2 separate regions of the Homo sapiens genome follow, and region 2 is linked to region 1. The links are contacts of gene promoters, found by promoter capture Hi-C in blood cells and fetal thymus (Javierre and others, 2016). All regions are on one chromosome and are shown on one strand. The core of a region is centred on a gene start or on the middle of the fragment in contact, and the rest is flanking DNA. Distances in the headings are between cores, read along the strand shown. Region 1 holds the start of ELAPOR2 (endosome-lysosome associated apoptosis and autophagy regulator family member 2). Region 2 overlaps ELAPOR2 (endosome-lysosome associated apoptosis and autophagy regulator family member 2).

The links. The method cuts DNA at HindIII sites, captures the fragments that hold promoters and counts their contacts. A CHiCAGO score of 5 or more calls a contact.
Region 2: a contact is called between a fragment that was not itself captured here and the fragment with the promoter of ELAPOR2 in region 1, in 7 of 17 cell types (naive CD4 T cells, naive CD8 T cells, total CD8 T cells and 4 more). The highest score is 6.3, in naive CD4 T cells.

Annotation. Positions count from the first base shown.
Region 1 is chr7:87,057,791-87,064,479 of GRCh38, forward strand. ELAPOR2 (endosome-lysosome associated apoptosis and autophagy regulator family member 2) reads right to left here and starts at 1,864. Exons shown (of 22, transcript NM_001142749.3): 1 at 1,535-1,864. The coding sequence starts at 1,723. RefSeq lists an enhancer at 826-1,326 and silencers at 1,592-1,661, 1,752-2,141. The HindIII fragment of the contact is 3,663 bases long and covers 47-3,709 here.
Region 2 is chr7:86,948,341-86,955,757 of GRCh38, forward strand. The region is part of intron 2 of ELAPOR2 (endosome-lysosome associated apoptosis and autophagy regulator family member 2); the gene reads right to left. Among named protein-coding and RNA genes, the nearest start is that of ELAPOR2, 110 kb to the right of the region's middle. RefSeq lists enhancers at 642-1,179, 1,180-1,716, 1,414-1,603, 2,065-2,134 and a silencer at 1,724-1,773. The HindIII fragment of the contact is 1,376 bases long and covers 2,158-3,533 here.

The DNA of each region.
Region 1 (6,689 bases), core at 614-3,113:
GCCTACTTCAAGCAGATTTTCATTACTAAGAATCGATGTTATCAGAAGCTTAAGACTTTTCAGTTTAGAAAAATATATTCTGCATATTAGAAGTTGGGGGCTGGAGGATAAAGTTTATCTTGTCACAACTGTTCAATCTGAGATGTCCAAGAAGCAGCTTTCTGTGGAAACCTGGAATAATGGATTATTCCCAGGTGATATGTAAAGTTGTAGAATATAGATTAAGCTCATTATACTAAAAAGCCCTAAAATTAAACACAGCTGTTTGTTGAGCTCTTGCCCTGATTTCCCCAATTACAACATTGCTGTGTGTTCGCACACAAGCCTTTGATCCGATTCTCTTTCATTTCAGTCTGTCCTGGGACCTGTACTGTAGGAGAGAAAGACGAAAATCCATAGATGATGGATGATGTGTAGAACACAGATACTCTGTAATTCAAGTCTCGGTAAAATTCAGAAGTTAGAGCAACATACACAAACAAGAGGGTCTGGCCTTTCTTCCCAGAGGGGCTATTGGCTAACCTATTTTTGCTACATTAATTAAAACGACCCATCGCCCTGATTCCTAACAATCTTCCTAAAAACAGTATCTATTCCATATATCCTCCCAACACAATCAAAGTAGGTCAGAAATGTTGCTTCCTTCCCCTCATTGATTTTCATTAAGAGGATGCACTTTCTGAACACTAAATGGAAAGATAAACACCCAATACAAGAACCAATGACACCCCCTGTAAATTTTTGGCACACTGTCTCGTTCTTCTAAAAGCCAGATAAAAATCTCATCTCCCATAGTTTATCCTTTTTGGCTGTAAAACAACAATGATTACAAGCTATAAAATACACCGCGGCAATACTTCAGCCAGGTGATAAAGCACCTCCCAAAAGAAGCATATTCACTGTCTTTTCTAATTTTCTCCATCATCAACCTGCATCTTCTCTACCAAGTACATACTCCTTTTTTTTCCCCCCCAAATTCAAATCCACATTTTGTCAGAAGGATGCTAAGTGACACCATACATTGGCTTAGCAAACCCACAGGGCCTTAATCAGGAAGCTGAGGGCAGGGGAGTAGGACGAAGGCGTTTGCAGAGACAGGGGAGTGGAGACAGGGGGAGGAGGAGCGGGAAATCCTCTGGTGTCTGTGTCTGGCTCTCTGGAAAAGCTGTGATGAGATGGTTCTTCAAATCCCACTGGTGGGGCTTCCCCAGTCTCCTCCCCTTCCTGAAATCTTTCCCTCGACCCCAGGTCCTCAAACCTGGCTGTCCAAAAAGGACGCCGCAAAGTCCTGCAGAGCCCCCAAAAGACACAAGCGCGGACAGAAAAGCATCCCCCGAGAGACAGCGAAGCCACACACCCTCTCCGGGCCAGCTACCAGGGCGGGCAACTTCACCCCTCGAAGCAAACGAAAGCCCCTGTTCTCCAAGCAAAGGAAAAGGGGATGGCAAACAGAAATAAACAGGAACCGCTCTCAGCCTTCATCTTCCGCGCCCTCCCCCAGCAAACTCCAGGTAGAGGACCAGGTGCTGCTCACCTCCTGGCAAGGAGGAAGCGGGCGGCTGGAGGAGGAGGGCAGGTCCCCAGCCCAGGCCGCCTGGCAGCCGGCGAGCGCCCAGCAGCAAATCCAGGCGGGGCTCCAGGGCGGCGAGCGCCCGCGGCGGGGAGCCTCCGCCGGCCGCCCCCAGCCCCTGCCCCGTACCGGCCCCCGGGCGCGGAACAGCATCTTCGTCCGGCCGCGGTCGGCGGGCCGGCGGCAAGGCAGCCTTCCCGGGGTGCGGCGGCAGCTCCGGCTCCCGGGCCGCGACTGCTGTGCGCTCGTCTCGCCGCTCCGTCACCCGCTGCCCGTCCGCCCGCTGACAGCTCTGCTGCGCTCGCGGCCCGGGCAGCCAGCGCCGATGCTCCCGTCACGCCGGAGGGAGGGACCGCGGGGCGCGGGCGCGGCGCGGGGGCGGGACGCGGGGCGGGGACGCTGGAGCTGGGGAGCAGGTGGCGCGGGCGGGGGCTGCGGCCCAGCCCGGCGGGTCCCCAGGGGCTGCGCGGCGCTCGCCTCGCGCTAGAGGGCGAGAGAGGCTGGGGACCCCGTGGAGTAGCCTGTCTCAGGTCCCCGTGGCCCACTGGGAGGGGCGCTCCCGGGATGAAGCCAGAGTAAATACAGGACATCAGGACATTGTTTTCTGGCGGTGGGTCTTTAAAAAGCTCGCCACTTTCCTCATTGCACACAAACACGCAGATGTGCCCTCGGAACATCCCTTGTAAGGATCCATGCTGGCTAGCGTCAGATCGAATTTCTAGTTAGGGTGTGCATGAAATGGCGGGGAAGAAAGAGGACTGAGGTGTAGACGTGGTGTGTGACTCAGTTTTCTCACCTATTTAATGAAAATAATACCCACCACGTAGGATTATTATGAGGATTAAGTAAGTTGATGTACATAAAGCACTTGGAAGAGTGCCTGGCACACAGTAGGTGACATGTGTTGGTAGTAGTAGCCATAATTATTGCTGCTATTGGTGTTATTTTGTGGAGATGTGTAACATTGGGCATTAAGCCCTGTGTTTTCTGGAGGAAACAGTTTCTCCATCTGTGCGATGATTGAGGTGCTCTTCGTTTTTTCTTTCATTCAAAAACATACTGAACTAGGTGATGGTGAACAAGATGGACATAAGGCCTTCCTCAGTGGCAAGGATCTCAAGATCCCTTCTTGATCTCAGATTCTGTAAATGGGTGAGTTATTGTGTTTTTCAAAAGAAGCATCCAAATTTCTGATTATTGAATATCTGGACAAATCCACGTGGCCCACTCATTATAAGTTGGCCTGTGGCACATTTGTTTGTGGCATTATCTCTAATATCCTTTTAACAAAATTTCCACATGAAAGTCTCTGTATATGTGTGTTTGTGTGTATGTATACACATATAGATTTGTGTATCACACCTATATTCTGATTATAACAATATATGTTATTTGTAAACATTTTGGAAAATATTGAAAAGTATCAGGAAGAATATAAAAATAACTAGAGATCCTACCACCCAGAGATAACATTGTTAATGGTATTAACATGTTGAGGAATTTCCTTGCTTTTTTTTTTTTAACTCTGTGTGTACTGCAAAACTGGAATAATAATTTGTAACCTGCTTTTATTTTTATTCTTAATAACATAAATATTTTCTCAAGTCATTAAAGTCTCCAACAACACAACTTTAATAATTGTAAAATATTTTCTACTCTTTAGATACATGTAATTTACTATTAGATATTAGGCATTGTTTAAGGATTCAGTGTTATTAATAATTCTGGAAAGAATGCCCTTGGAACATAATCTGTGTGCATCTTTAAATATTTTATGATAACTTTCTAGAAGTGAAAACATTGGATCACATGATATGTGTATTTTTAAAGTTTTTGACGAATAGTGTACAAATTCCTTCCAAAAAATTTGTAGCAATTGTTACCAGCAGTTTATGAGTATTTATTTCACATCACCCTAGATTATAATACTTCAGATATTTATCATTTTGGTAGAAGAGACAAAAGCTATTATTTTTAAAATGTATTTTTATCATTGGTGACATCGAGTGATTTTTTATATATATCTACTAGCTATTTGCATTTTTCCTTCTCATGTCAGGGTGTGAGAATTTTTCACTGGCACACTTTAGCCATTTTATTGAAGTTCCATTTTTTATTGATTCGTTAGCAATCTTCATAAGCTTTGTGTATGTTTATCATATATCTTACAAATACTTTTTTGTAGTCTTTTAAATTTACTTCTGATAGCTTTTCTGGCAGAAGCTTGTCATCTTTAGGTATTCAAATGTAGCAACATTTTCTTTTGTGATTTCTTCCTTTTTTATATCTAGAAGTACACGTATCTCTGCAAAATCATACAGATGCCTATGTTTTCTTATTTTGTTATATTTTGTTATTATTTCCTTTTTATATGCTTTATTCTTTAATTCATGTGGAATTTTTAGGAGTCAAATTATGTTATGATTTTTGTCATCTGAGAAAGAACTAACAACATGACTATTAAATTGAAAACAGCTTCTTTCCTTATAAAAATAAGAGTCGTCCAGTCAATGCACTTGGATCAAATGACAATTGTAGATTTTCCAGAGTAGGACAACTTGCCACTTTCAATAAATACTTTTCTCATAGTTGTCCCATCCATAAAAAAGATCTTGACCTTGGATAATTAAAATCAGCATAAAGGCTGACAGAGAAAGGAAATTTCAAGAAGACTCTAAGGTCCTCTTCTACCTGTTATTTTAGGATGTAATAGCAAATTATTCAAAGTTTGTGATTATCTGATCAATAAATTTACTCTTAAAGATAGTTTTATAAAAATATACTTTAATAGAAAATTCATAATGAAATTTTTGCAAGAATGGGTTGAAATAGCTTACAATCACTAGGTAATAATCATTTTTCCACTTTATTTGTGCAGTGTATACCTGAAAATTGAACTGAATTTTGTTAAAAAGTCAACAAAAGCCTTAGCTGTATCAACAAAAGCCATAGCCAAAATGATGCTATATAAATAGATTTATTTTCTTTTTTAACTTAAATCAGATTGTGGTATAAATAACCCCAATTTTTATTTATTTTATTTTTATTTTTATTTTTATTATTATACTTTAAGTTTTAGGGTACATGTGCACAATGTGCAGTTTAGTTACATATGTATACATGTGCCATGCTGGTGTGCTGCACCCACTAACTCGTCATCTAGCATTAGGTATATCTCCCAGTGCTATCCCTCCCCCCTCCCCCCACCCCACAACAGGCCCCAGAGTGTGATGTTCCCCTTCCTGTGTCCATGTGTTCTCATTGTTCAATTCCCACCTATGAGTGAGAATATGCGGTGTTTGGTTTTTTGTTCTTGCAATAGTTTACTGAGAATGATGATTTGCAATTTCATCCATGTCCCTACAAAGGACATGAACTCATCATTTTTTATGGCTGCATAGTATTCCATGGTGTATATGTGCCACATTTTCTTAATCCAGTCTATCATTGTTGGGCATTTGGGTTGGTTCCAAGTCTTTGCTATTGTCAATAATGCCGCAATAAACATACGTGTGCATGTGTCTTTATAGCAGCATGATTTATAGTCCTTTGGGTATATACCCAGTAATGGGATGACTGGGTCAAATGGTATTTCTAGTTCTAGATCCCTGAGGAATCGCCACACTGACTTCCACAATGGTTGAACTAGTTTACAGTCCCACCAACAGTGTAAAAGTGTTCCTATTTCTCCACATCCTCTCCAGCACCTGTTGTTTCCTGACTTTTTAATGATTGCCATTCTAACTGGTGTGAGATGGTATCTCATTGTGGTTTTGATTTGCATTTCTCTGATGGCCAGTGATGGTGAGCATTTTTTCATGTGTTTTTTGGCTGCATAAATGTGTTCTTTTGAGAAGTGTCTGTTCATGTCCTTCGCCCACTTTTTGATGGGGTTGTTTGTTTTTTTCTTGTAAATTTGTTTGAGTTCATTGTAGATTCCGGATATTAGCCCTTTGTCAGATGAGTAGGTTGCAAAAATTTTCTCCCATTTTGTAGGTTGCCTGTTCACTCTGATGGTAGTTTCTTTTGCTGTGCGGAAGCTGTTTAGTTTAATTAGATCCCATTTGTCAATTTTGTCTTTTGTTGCCATTGCTTTTGGTGTTTTAGACATGAAGTCCTTGCCCATGCCTATGTCCTGAATGGTAATGCCTAGGTTTTCTTCTAGGGTTTTTATGGTTTTAGGTCTAATGTTTAAGTCTTTAATCCATCTTGAATTAATTTGTGTATAAGATGTAAGGAAGGGATCCAGTTTCAGCTTTCTACGTATGGCTAGCCAGTTTTCCCAGCACCATTTATTAAATAGGGAATCCTTTTCCCCATTGCTTGTTTTTCTCAGGTTTGTCAAAGATCAGATAGTTGTAGATATGCAGCGTTATTTCTGAGGGCTCTGTTCTGTTCCATTGATCTATATCTGTGTTTTGGTACCAGTACCATGCTGTTTTGGTTACTGTAGCCTTGTAGTATAGTTTGAAGTCAGGTAGCGTGATGCCTCCAGCTTTGTTCTTTTGTCTTAGGATTGACTTGGCGATGTGGGCTCTTTTTCGGTTCCATATGAACTTTAAAGTAGTTTTTCCCAATTCTGTGAAGAAAGTCATTGGTAGCTTGATGGGGATGGCATTGAATCTATAAATTACCTTGGGCAGTATGGCCATTTTCACGATATTGATTCTTCCTACCCATGAGCATGGAACGTTCTTCCATTTGTTTGTATCCTCTTTTATTTCATTGAGCAGTGGTTTGTAGTTCTCCTTGAAGAGGTCCTTCACATCCCTTGTAAGTTGGATTCCTAGGTATTTTATTCTCTTTGAAGCAACTGTGAATGGTAGTTCACTCATGATTTGGCTCTCTGTTTGTCTGTTATTGGTGTATAAGAATGCCTGTGAGTTTTGTACATTGATTTTGTATCCTGAGACTTTGCTGAAGTTGCTTATCAGCTTAAGGAGATTTTGGGCTGAGACAATGGGGTTTTCTAGATATACAATCATGTCGTCTGCAAACAGGGACAATTTGACTTCCTCTTTTCCTAATTGAATACCCTTTATTTCCTTCTCCTGCCTAATTGCCTTGGCCAGAACTTCCAGCACTATGTTGAATAGGAGTGGTGAGAGAGGGCATCCCT
Region 2 (7,417 bases), core at 1,596-4,095, 110 kb before region 1:
TGTTATAATACCTCCATTAAAGCACTTAATTTATGCTAATCAGTGGATAAGCACATATTAAGACCACTTATAAGTTGATGTGAGATTTTGAGCTTTAAGAAAACAAGGATCATTATTTTTGGATTCCTAGCTGTATCAGGCACATACTAAGTCCAGATAAAATGCTGATCCAATGAGTGACAACTAAATATAAAAAGGGAAACAGGAAAGCAGTGCAATAGTTGAACAGGTTATCTCCACTCTGAAACCATGAGCCCACTTTTTCAATATTCACACCAACCTAGTCATCTCTACCACCTATATCTTATTTCTGATGTCAAGCTTTCTGCAGACTCTGAGAACTGTACCCAGAGATACTAGATACGACAATGTGAAGAATAGTTGACACACTACAAAAAAAGAAAGCTAAGTTATTATTCCTTCAACAAATGCAAATCAACATCCTCCAAGTACATGGCTATGTGCACGATGGTATTAGTGACTCCAACCTTGGAAAAGGGCTTTCTAATCCTTTAATCAGGATATTAAAGAAACAAGAACAAAATGAGACCTCCAAATTACCCAGTGAAGAAAAACAAATCTCCCAGCAGAGTGTAAAGCAGCAAAGTCTCACATTTAGGTAGATTCTTCTCTTTTAGAATACATTAGAAAACTTAGCCAGAAATAAAAATCAGCTGATTTTTAAAAACTAATTAAAGAATTAGAGCTAAAATCCACACACATCTACTTATTCGCTGAATTAATATAATGCTTTCCTTGAGAAAACCTTAAAGATGCTGTACAATGAACTTCTACATTCAAATCAACATCCCCAAATCAGTAAAACATGAGAAAATAAAAAAAGATTATGCAAAGAATGTGGCATGCTGGCTACATAGTCAAAACTGTCCTAGGACAAGGCTGTACCACTTCCTAATTCTATGACACTGAGTGAGTTATTTCACCTCTCTAGGCCTTAGTTTCTGTCTCTAAAAAATGAGATAACAATCACAATAGGTACCTTTAAGGGCTATACTGATGGCAGCAGCAGCCAGCCTGGAGTGACCACTGCCATGAAGCCGGCTACTGTGGGGGAAGTGCGGACCAGGCAGCACGTTCCATGGAGCCATTGGGGCGGGAGGAGGCAGAGCCCCGTCCTCCCAGGCAGACTCAAGCTTCCCTGTGCTCTTGGGGGCCAGGAGCAGGCAGGAGCTCCACCATCCTGAGCACAGCTGCAGCTACCCAAGCCATGGCTGTGGACCAGGGCATCTTGGCACTCTCAGGGGCCCAGGAAGAACCCCTTCCCCCACAGGCTTGGAGACGTCTGCTCCCCCTGCCTGGCCTCTCCCCACTCCTGGCACCCCTTCCAATCTCAGAGCAAGGTTGGGGCTGAGCCTGGGCACTCTGCTAACATACCAGCTTCCTGCCACCTCAGCCTCCTCCAGACTTTGGCCACCAACAAGCACAGGAGAGAGACTGAAGCAGGGGCTGAAGGCAGCTTGGCACTGGCCTGCAGGCACTCCTTGACCGAACAGCCTGGGTGCCCAGAACAGTGGCAGGAGGCATAGAGTCTCCTGGATGGAAGGGGATGGGTCCCACAAAGCCCCACCTTCAAGCCAGGGAGGCTCTGAAGCCTGGGGGCTGGGTTGCCAGTCAGTGGGCCAGAATGGGAACTTGTGGTGCTTTTTCCCCCCAGACTGCCCATGGCCGCCCATTGACCAATCAGCACACACTTCCTCCCTCTGGCTGGCTGAGGCCCAGGCCCATAAAAGCCCTGGACTCGGTTACCCACTCCAGGGTCCCCTCTCTGCTGAGAGCTGAACAGTAGCTGAGACACCCTGCTTATGAAGAGGAGCTAGTCACTGTGGGTCTCCTCTAAGCTATTCTGTAGCTCAATAAAGCTCCTCTTCACCTTGCTCACCCTCCACTTGTCCACATACCTCATTCTTCCTGGATATAGGACAAGAACTCAGGAACCACCAAATGGTGGAGCTAAAAGAGTTTTAACAAATAGGGCTGAAACATGCTCCTTGCTTGCCACGTTGCAGGTGACAAGAAGGAGAGAAGAGCTGTGGCCCTTTGGGGATACCAGACCTGGAAGCTCCCCAAGTCAAGGCTGTAACAGCCTCTTTGGGGCTCTGTAGTTCCTGTAACAGCCTCTTTGGGGCTCTGTCTCCAAGCTTCTGGGTGCCACCATATTCCCCGGTGCCAGCACAGAAGCTGCTTGTGGCATGCTTGGTTCAGCTGCAGCCTCACAGGGAACCAGTGCCCATGCTGTCACCTGGAGTTGCTCCCCCCACCGCAGCTGTCATGCCTGGCTGTGCATGGTAGCCTGAACCCCATGCTCACTCACACACCCCTTGCCACTCTGCACCTGGCTAGCCCTTGGCCAGCGTGGGACCCAGGCCAGTAGAGTGAGCCAAATGCAGCCTGGCAGGCCAAGGAGGCAGAACAAGCCTGGTGGGCCTGAGCAAAACTCAGGCAAAGGTGCCACTGGCCACAGGGGTTTCCAGCTGGTGAAGTGACACCCCAAGAATCCTGTGACCATACTGAGAAAATAAAATATAGTATAAGGTGGTTAGTGCCTGGCATATAACAAATGCTCATTAAAGCTATTATCACTACCAGCACAACTAACAGAAAAACACAGTTATGGAAAACTGCTTATTTTCAATGGTCTATGGATCTTCTAGCAAACTCAGAATCAGACATTTGCCTAATATGATAAATAATAATATCATAAACCAAGACCCTACAGTACATTAAATCAGAGGTGAGCAAACTACAACCTGCAGGGGAAATCCAGCTCACTACCTGCTTTTGTAAATAAAGTTTTATTGAAACCCAATCCCGATCATTCATTTACCTACTGTCTATGGCTGCTTTCACACCACAATGGCAGAGTTGAATAGCTGCAACAGAAACTGCATTGCCCACAAAGACAAAAATATTGACTTCCTAATAAAGTTATCTTGGAAGACAGTTTAGTGTCCAAAATGGTATTTTAAGTTGATTATCTATAACTTAATAAAAGGTAATATTTTATGATATGTTGTTATAAAGAACTCTAAAATATAAAAAAGAGAAGAATTGCGTTTGTGAATCTTGTCTTCTAAATACAATGATGCCATTTTGGAATGTTCACTGCCCTGTTAATTAAAATCATAAAGAATATTCCCATTTCTTTCCCAAGTGTTTCCATGAAGTCAGAAGGAAAACTAAGAGATAAAGTTGAAAGTGAATATAATGGATATTTGGTATATACCAGGTGCCATGCTTGATACTTTACAAACACAGTAAATTCTTGTTATTCGCAGTAGTTGTGTTATATGAATTTACCCCAAACACTAAATTAATGAATACTGGACCATCACTCTTATGGAAAATACAGGGTTAGGTTCCTGGGAACCTTTGGTCACATCACCTTTGTCAACCAATCAATACCTAACCTTGTTTAAGTGTATTTCTTTTTAAAAACATCTGATTTAGTATATGTTGTTAATTCGTTAATGTTGAACTCATGGCCAACAGAACTATAACTCATGCCTGAATAAAGCTTATCTAACACATGTATTTTTCTCTGAAAGGCATAGCACAGCCCTCTTGTACTTAGGAACACTAGCCTTCACATTGGCACTATACTTGGAGGGCCATTTTAAGCAGCAAAATCACCCAAAAAAATAACTAAAATGCTAAACACATAGTACTAAATAAACCACCAAAAGGACACTTGTTTACAGTATGAGAAAAGCAGTAAGAAGTCAAAGTGTCACCTTGTTCATTCATGTAGTTGGGTGACTCAGATATCTCACCACTCTGCATATGTCTGCAAATAACTATGAAAGCATTGAGTGTATTAATTTGGGGGTTACAAATAAATTTTAGCAAGTAGTCAAATTTGCAAATATTGAATCCATGAATAATGAGGATTAACTGTGTTTATAGTAGACTGGTGAGGGAGGAAGGGATTATGCCTATATACCAGATGAGGAAACTGAGCCACAGTGCATTTAAATAACCTGATTAAAAAGGTTAACTAGTTAACAGTTAACCAATGGCAAAGCTGAAACTCAAATTCTGGTCTGTCTGATTCCAAAGGTGGGGCCTCAGAGAAAATTCAGTTCAAAAAATTATTACAACCAATACAAAAAGGGCAAACAATTCCAACCAAATTAATCATCATACATCACATCATTCTTCATTCCTATCCTGAACTGTTAATGTTCATGTGCATTATACAGCAATAACCATTTTAGCAATAACCTCATATTTCTTGTGGATTTTTAATGTACTACTCCTAAAACATGCATTAAAAATATTTTAGCAAGTTTCTATCTTCCATAAGTCTAATGACTTTGCCTATAAAAGGAAAATAATAACAATAGCTATCTCAATGAGTTGTGGGAATAAAGGAGATATATCATATAAAGCATTTAGCATATTACCTGGCATGCAGCACACAATAAATATTAAATACAATTATTAATAGTTTAGGCTGGACTCAGTGGCTCACACCTGTAATCCCAGCACTTTGGGAGGCTGAGGCAGGCAGACTGCTTGAGGTCAGGAGTTTGAGACCAGCTTGGACAACAAGGTGAAACCCTATCTCTACAAAAAACACAAAAAGTTAGCCAGGCGAGGTGGCGCACACCTGTAATCTCAGCTACTTGGGAGGCTGAGGCATGAGAATTGCTTGAGCCTGGAAGACAGAGTTTGCAGTAAGCTTAGATCATGCCACTGCACCCCAGCCTGGGCAACAGAGCAAGCCTCTGTCAAAAAAAAAAAAAAAAAACCCACACAATTATTGATAGTTTAATTCAGGGACATGGGACACACATCTCTATAAGAACTCTGCCAGTGGATTACATCCTTCAGATTAATTATGCAGTCAAATTAGTTGAATAAGTATAGGGCCTTTAATAATACAGAGGAGCTAGTAAGTCTAAAGCTTTTCATAGTTTAATCATTTGCTACTCCTCAATCTTTTTCATCCTGGAAGTCAGGCTTAGAGACACCTGTCAAAGGAAGAAAAGAGCCACACTTTCTTGGTAAACACTGTTTACTCCACAAGACTATGTCAACAGAGTTAGCACTGCTGACTTCCTTTGATGGCCACCAAAACTACCTGCTTTTCCTTTTATCTTCCATCCTAGCCTCATCCACTCTCTATGTCAACACTGCTACCTTGGCATTTGTTCTTTAATTAGATCATCAGGTTTTTTAATAATCTTAAAGACTGTACTATTTTCATTCAGTTTTTTTAGCATACAACATAGGAACCCTTCAACAAGCAGTATGATAGACAGTTATTATTAATAGCTGTTGTTAACTGTTGTTAGCTGTTTTGAACATGAATTTACCGTATTTAATTTGAATCAATTAGTCATTTCTAATTTTTCTTCTTCAACAACCTTGAAATCTTAGAGAAACTGAATTAAAGATAGGCAAACTCCAAAGTTTTTAATGAGAACAGAAAGACCTTATTTGCCTAAGGTCTTAGGCACTACTTAACAGTGGCCTCAAGTATTTCACAATAGTTTACCTAAGCACCCAGTGAAAGAGTGATATTTAAAAACCCAACATCTTGAAGTCTAAACTGTAACCAAGAGGTCATTTGCTGCACTCACTGTTCTTTTTATCAGCCTTATGCCTCTTCTTTTCTGACATTTATTTCTGCTACTGTGAATCTGTAAAGGTTTAAATATGCAGGTGTGAATAATCAGATACGGAAAAAGCATTTATATTAGTCCGTCCCCAAGTAGCAAATATCTTAGGCAATTTACTTAACCTCTGTGCTTATTCACACTCCACCATCCCCTTCTCCCTCCTAGGACTGCTTATAATAATCCAATGTGAGACTCTGGAAGCCACTCTGAAAATAAAGAGTGTTGAAAATACAAAGCACTGCTATGATCATGCAACTACCCAGCACAATATGCCAAATAACTGTTACTGAATTGAATCATTTATATGCTGATTATCATCTATGATTTATGCCTAACAATAAAGAACATCTATTTTTAATCATTGTACCACAAGGCCACATAGTTTTGCTTTTTCTTCCTCCAGAGACCTCATGTTTTGAAAGACTATGGCTGTCAATTACATTTATTCATAATTTACTCATTTTTGCTCTTTTTAATCAAAGTTTTTATTACTAAAATATGTTTTCTAAACAGTGAACAGCAATAGTAAGTAATAATAAACGGATTTTCAATTTACTTGTTTAATGAGATGTTAATGATATAGTGAACCTATGCAAACTTATTACAGATAAATATCTGGGAACAACATTGTGGCTTTCTCAGAGCTTCCATGATAGTCTAATCTAGACTGATCTTCCTCAAAATAAATCAAATTTATATCTCACTAAGTATAAATTCATTGTAATCCATCTTGTCAGTTAATATCAGCTAAGTATAATTATATATATTTGTGGGGAAATATAAAGTAAATCAATTCCAGGATCAAGACAAGCCCATATGTCTATTTTTCTTCAATGGGTTAGTCTTATTTAAATAAGATGAATAAGGTTCAAACCATAGACATTCTTATATCGACGACACGCTGATGCTCTTGCAACTGTTCTTACTATTACTCACTGCCATTAAGGATAATACAAAGAAAGAGAACAATGCTTAGTGTGTGAACCTCACAAATAAGTTCTACTTCCATCTCTCATGTAGCCAATTAATTATCATTATCAGATAATTAAAACTTTAAGTGCCTGCCAGATTTATTATCATTCTTTTCACACACCAAAAAAGCAGAAAATGGCATCTAAGAGAGACTGAACAGCATATTGAATCCAGCAAATCTCAGATCTTCTTCCTCCTTCAGTACCAGTGATAAGGACAGCACTTGAACACCATCCTTTTAAGCTGTTATTTGTGAAATTCTTAGAGAAGAAAAAGTAATCTATAATTCTCATTTTATGAAAATAAAAGTATGATAGGGAAAGTCAAACAGTACATTAAAACAGGCCATTTCTTGCTGATATTCTCTTAATCACAGTAAAGCAGATTTTTTCCCCTGGCTGAAGGGAATTCTTGTTCTCTCTAATTGGGAATTTTTTTTTTATCCTGAGGGTAGTTTTCATGTCAAAACATACAAGGCAACAATGAAAGCTGGTTGTGAGTACATCAACTATCTGTCATGTTCAATTTAAGGCTGGAAGAGGAGAAAGGAAGGTAACACTGTCCAAATACTAATAGTGGCAGACATTGCAATATTCCTATCAGAAGAGAATATTCATGAGCATTAAGAAGATATATTAGTATTGCACTATAATTCACAGGTAATGTGATTTGAGGCATGATTTGATCACAGAATGAATAAATCTGTGATATGTAATAATAACAATTAAAATAATCAGAATCACCAAAAGAGACCTTTGAGATTATCTGATCCAAACCATCCCAATTCAGATTCCAAGTTT